Regions from separate parts of the Homo sapiens genome. Here region 1 is linked to region 2. The links are contacts of gene promoters, found by promoter capture Hi-C in blood cells and fetal thymus (Javierre and others, 2016). All regions are on one chromosome and are shown on one strand. The core of a region is centred on a gene start or on the middle of the fragment in contact, and the rest is flanking DNA. Distances in the headings are between cores, read along the strand shown.

The links. Contacts are between HindIII fragments. The CHiCAGO score rates a contact against its expected background, and 5 or more counts as called.
Region 1: a contact is called between a fragment that was not itself captured here and the fragment with the promoter of SLAMF1 in region 2, in 4 of 17 cell types (non-activated CD4 T cells, activated CD4 T cells, naive CD8 T cells and 1 more). The highest score is 7.9, in non-activated CD4 T cells.

Annotation. Positions count from the first base shown.
Region 1 is chr1:160,776,976-160,779,782 of GRCh38, reverse strand. The region is part of intron 1 of LOC105371470 (a long non-coding RNA gene); the gene reads left to right. Among named protein-coding and RNA genes, the nearest start is that of LY9, 18 kb to the left of the region's middle. RefSeq lists enhancers at 1,931-2,000, 2,321-2,370. The HindIII fragment of the contact is 4,063 bases long and covers 1-2,807 here.
Region 2 is chr1:160,645,780-160,648,579 of GRCh38, reverse strand. SLAMF1 (signaling lymphocytic activation molecule family member 1) reads left to right here and starts at 1,536. Exons shown (of 7, transcript NM_003037.5): 1 at 1,536-1,710. The coding sequence starts at 1,635. It overlaps LOC107985220 (a long non-coding RNA gene), which reads right to left and starts at 1,571. Exons shown (of 2, transcript XR_001738266.2): 1 at 1,245-1,571; 2 at 1-1,107. RefSeq lists enhancers at 1,405-1,454, 1,495-1,704. The HindIII fragment of the contact is 11,196 bases long and covers 1-1,564 here.

The sequences.
Region 1 (2,807 bases), core at 271-2,770, 130 kb before region 2:
GTAACATTCGCAATTTGCAAGACTAATTTATGCGCACTGTTTTGTTTTTTGTTTTTAAAGATATGTAAGTTAGAGTTGCCAGAGAGAATCTCCTGAAAAATGTCAAGCCTCAGGACCTACCCTAGACCACCTGAAGCAGAGTTCTTGGGACAGTAGTGGTCAGAGAATGGGATTTCAGGCCCTGAGAACTGAGTTTTTCCACAACCTCCTCTTGTGGCCTGGAGCTTCCTCATTACTAAAATGGGAACAATACCTTTTTGTGAGAGTGAAAACATATGAAAGTGCTTTGGAAAGGCCTATGCAGATGCAGAGGGATGCTCTTATCAAATTCCTTAAAGAAATTTAAAAAATCTTAGCAGGAGAAACTACAAAGGAAGCAATGGGGTGGGTATCAAGCACACACAGCACCGAGAAAGGCCTATGAAAGATGCTACGCTGAGCCACTTTGAGATTCAGACAGTTGATTATTCATATAACGAATGGAAGAGTAGCCAAGGGTTCCAGATCCCTGGGCACTTGTCCCACACCAGAAAAGATGACATTGAAACAAAAGGGGCCAGATGGCTGCAGTGGGAGCTGTGGAATACCCAGATGCCGAGGGGCCAATTCTACCTTCAGCAAAGAGGACTTAGAGACCGCAGCTGTGTTCTGAGGACAAGAAGTCCCATACTGCATCAGAACCCCAGGAGCCAGGGGAAATAGTCTCATGACAGCCTCCCAGGGGAGATGGCTTCAAGGCTGTGCCTCACAGGCCACCTGAACTCTCGTGTTCTGGGTGGATCACAAGGCATTTTGCCAAGACCCAGTTTAGCAGAGGTTGAAACCTTTGCCTGAGAGAGATGTGCAAGGTCTCAGGGTGCTATGGCAGAGCCGTTCCCCTGCAATGAGCGAGGGGGACAGGTGGTGAGTGAGGATGGACATGGGAAGGCCAGCAGAGAACCTTCACAGACATTTTTCTTGGATTCTGTGATAGGAAATCTTCCTATTAGACGAAGGCACTCTTTTAGTGGAGTTGATGGGGCTGCTCTCTGGTCAGGTCCACATGGCTGGGGAGAAGGCGTGTCTGCCATAAATCAGGCCTGGGCTGGCTATGGCCTGCTTCTCACAACAGGACCAGGGCACAATGGAAGTGGGTTGCTGGGACTTGGGGTTGGGTTGCTCACTAGGGTAGGGTGGGCCCAAAACTGGTGGGAGAGGCCCTTTGGCCTCGCTGATAGTCATTCTGATAGCACTTACTTAGTGTGGTATGGTGTCAGGTGGAGTCTGGGTAGAGGATAGGGTTGTGCCAATCCATCAGGGGTGGGGTCTTCCAGAGAGCCCTTCTCTCTCTGGGTTGACATCCCAATGGCAAGGCAGTGCTAATGGTCAGGCTCCATCCTTCACAGGGTGTTTCCCATCACTGCAGCCTCACAACAGCCCTGCCAGTATGCAGGTCAGGAGTTTTCATTTCTAGGAAGGAAACGGAATCTTAGAAAGGGAAAATAAGACACCTATGACATGGAGCTAGAAAGTGGCAGATTTGGGAATCGAACTCAGGTATTCTGATGCTGTACCCTGTGCCTTCATTCTCTGGGTTTCTGGTATGTCGCCATATTTATTGGATGAGAAAAGGGCCAATAGAAGTCAAGTGGCTTGCATCCCAGGGCCTGATATATAGGAGACACAGTGGGGAGAGCCAGCAGCAAGGTACCCACCTGTGGGGATGTCCAGGCTGCCTTCTCCTGGGGGACACGCTGGGCCTGTGTGGTCCTACTTTGCACAGTTGAGTTTCCCCTGGGGCTGCAGTCGTGTGGGCCACAGGGCTGAGGCTGAGTAGCAGAGTAGCCTTGTTCTATGCAATATGACTTTGTTGAGTGTTTCAGGCCTGGTGTCTGCAGCTGCTCTTCTCGCCTCCCCCAAATCCTCCTGGGTCTGGCCTGGGAGGCTGGTGGACAAATAATGGCAATGTGGACACCTCGAGCACTTAAGAATATCTGGGTCATGGCCCTGGGGCAAGAGGAGACGGGGAGCAGGTCCAAGGGAGTGCAAGGGAGTGGGAGAAACCTCAAAGGCACACAGCCACCTCCTCTGGGACTCTTGATCAACACCTGGAAGCTCAGTGTATGCTGCAGAGCCCCCTACGGGGAAAATATGTAATTACAACACAGCTCCGTACTTGCATTCCTTTATCTATTCAGGGCAGGGTTGGGAAACTCAGTTTTGGGCTCAAATTCACTGGATTTGGATTTTGGCTTTACCACTTAACTAGATGAGACTTTGGGCAGGTTATCTAAGCATTCTGAGCCTGTGAAATGGAGTTGATATAACATCTTCCCTGTTTAGTTCATGGAGTTGTTCTGGAAATCAACTGAGATGTTAAGTGACATGGCCTTACATAGCACAAAGTTCTGGAACAGATGTGGGCAGATCCTGCCTCTGCTGTTCCTTCTGTGTATTCAAGGTGATGCAAGGTTTGGGCACTAATGCCGTGCATTTTCTGTCCTGTGAAGTGGAGGCCCAGAGCAGTTTCCCAGTCCTCAGTTTATTCCCTTTCGCACACACAGAGCAGCTGGCCTGGCCTCATGTCACACTGAGCTCCAGGATTAGTGAGGATGGATGCTGCATTGTCACTCTCATATGCCATTGACATGTGTGGCAGAGAGCAGAGGAGGCAGTGTGACTTACAGCTGGACACCCCTGGGACCCCAGACTGTTGTTGTGTCCTGTGGAGGGTCTGTCCTCAGTGTCTCCTTGAGGCTTGGGGACAGTGCTCTAACTTTTACCTGCATGGTCAAGAACCCATTCAGTAACAGCAGCTCCCACCCTAT
Region 2 (2,800 bases), core at 287-2,786:
GGAGAAAAAGTACCCTTGTACACTGTTGTTGGGAATATAAGTTAGTACAACCACTGTGGAGAATGGTTTGAAGGTTCCTCAAAAAACTAAAAATAGAGCTACCATATGATCCACAATCTCACTGGTAGGTATACACCTAAAAGAAAAGAAATCAGTATATTGAAGAGATATCTGTACTCCCATGTTTATTACAGCACTATTCACAATAGCCAAGGTTGGAAGCGACCTAAGCGTCTATCACCGATGAGTGGATAAAGAAAATGTGGTACATATACACAATGAAGTACTATTCAGCTAAAAAAGAATTAGATCCTGTCATTCACAATGACATGGATGGAATTGAAGATCATTATGTTACGTGAAATAAGCCAGGCACAGACAGACAAACTTTGCACGTTCTCACTTGCTTGTGAGAGGTAAAAATTAAAACAATTGAACTTGTGGGCATAGAGAGTAGAAGGATGGTTACCAGAGGCTGAAGGGTAGTGGGGGTTGGGGAAGAAGTGGGGATGGTTAATGGGTACAAAAAAATAGAAAGAATGAATAAGAACTAGTATTTGATAATACAACAGTGTGACTATAGTCAATAATAATTTAATTGCACATTTAAAAATAAAAATATAATTGCACTGTTTGTAACACAAAGGATAAATATTTGAGGTGATGGATATCCCATTTACCCTGTGTGATTATTACATATTGCATGCCTCTATCAACATATCTCATATACCCCATACAAATATATGCATACCCCATACATATATATATACATACACACACACACACACACACACACACACACACACACACACACACATATATGTATATCTACTATGTACCCACAGACGTTAAAAATTAGAGGAGAAAACACACACACAACAAGGAGACTGAGCTGGAAGGATGGAGCTCTGGGATAGATTTGTCCTACATCCCTGCCTGGGAGGGAATCCACACACATGCAAGAAGACAAACTAGGAGCATGGGCTACTAAATTATACCACATTGCACTCATCGGGGTCACAGGGTTTCTTCCAAGTGACCCGCACATGCCCTTCCCATCTCTGTGTGACAGTGGCACCTGCACCAGACTGCATGTTGAGGTGTCATCTGAAATTATGAAATAAAACAGAAGTAAGAGGTCTATTAGCTCATCAAAATGCAGTTATCTAAGTTCAGCTGTGAACTGCCAAATTTGAGGAGTGATCCAATGAAACATCTTTTCTTTGCAATCCAAGAAGACTTACCGGAGAGAACTGCTCAGAGAATCTGCAACATCCGGTTCCTGGAGACAGCTAAGGAAAGAAGCTGGGGCGCATGTTTCTGCCCAAAGCCGGGTTTTGGCCGAGGTGACTACACACCCCCTTTCCTGGCTCCCATAGGCTAAGTGCCTGGCTTCTTGAGAAGCCTGCTTCTTGAGAACAAAAAAGTGATTTAAAGCCTCATGGGAGATGAGCAATCCTCAAGACACAAGCAGAAAAAGTCCCAGTGATACAGGAAGCGGGTTCAGGAACCTGCTGGTTCCTGATACATAAATCAGACAGCCTCTGCTGCATGACACGAAGCTTGCTTCTGCCTGGCATCTGTGAGCAGCTGCCAGGCTCCGGCCAGGATCCCTTCCTTCTCCTCATTGGCTGATGGATCCCAAGGGGCTCCTCTCCTTGACCTTCGTGCTGTTTCTCTCCCTGGCTTTTGGGGCAAGCTACGGAACAGGTGAGTGTTCATCTGCCTGATGGTTTGAGTCCCATGTTAGCTGCCAGGAATCAGCGTATCTTCGTGGATGGAGAGAAGGTGCAGGGCTGGGTATTGTGTTTGGTCACTCTTCCTTAGGGACTGGCTGTCAGTTTCAACTGCCTCTTTCAAAGAGGAAGGAACATTATAAGTTCCTGGGCCCTTGGGTTTCCAAGACTCAGCCCCACCAACCCCAGTTTCCAAGGAAATGAGGGGCTCTAAGCCAAAGGCTCCAGTCACTTTTCTGACCAGTCTTAGGGTGACAGGCCCTGGTAGAAGTCTTGCTTGAGTGGTTGGTTTTACATGGGCATCTTCTGGCAAAGACCCAGCCTAGAGAGACTGAGCTGGATGGACTGAGCTCTGGGAGAAGATTTGCCCTACATCCCTGCCCTGGGAGGGAATCTGTGCACATGCAGGCTGACAAACCAGGAGCATGGGTCAACAGAAAGCATTGGCTAGAGTGGGAAGAGAGAGTAGAAGTGAAAACTCCAGGCTTTTGGCTGAGAACCAGCAGTGGCCACAGTGCGGTCATACTGGTGTGTATTTTCTTGGAAGAGAAGGTCCAAGAAAGCAAGAGGGAAGAAGTTGGGATTTCTGAAGGCTAGGGCTGGTTACAGTATGTGGGAAATGCAAATTGGGAACCCTCAGAGAGTAGCTCCAGCAGGAAGGCCAGACAAGAGCTACCTTTGGATCTGGACTCTGTTCCTGTCTTTCTGTCTATCTTCTTCCCAAGGCAGGCTATTGCTTTCTGTTTAGAAGTATCAGGGCTATGAGAAAAGGTATTTGAGAAAGAAAAAGCCAAGCAAGAAGTGGACTTTGGACTGCCTGTGTGAGTGGGGTGAGAATCTCCTTCTGCTTATTTGTTTAGACTGTGGGAGGTAGCCTGGAGTAGAAGAGGTGGCATTACGGACACGGGGGGAAATCCTGAGGCCCAGGGTGTTTTAAGCTTGGGGTTTTCAAGACCGCAAATCCAATATGGACTTTTCCAGGAAAAGCACCGTGATATGCCAGGGATGTGGGGGTGCTGCACAATGGATGTGTCTTTTACCAGACAGCCAGACGAACAGGGCTT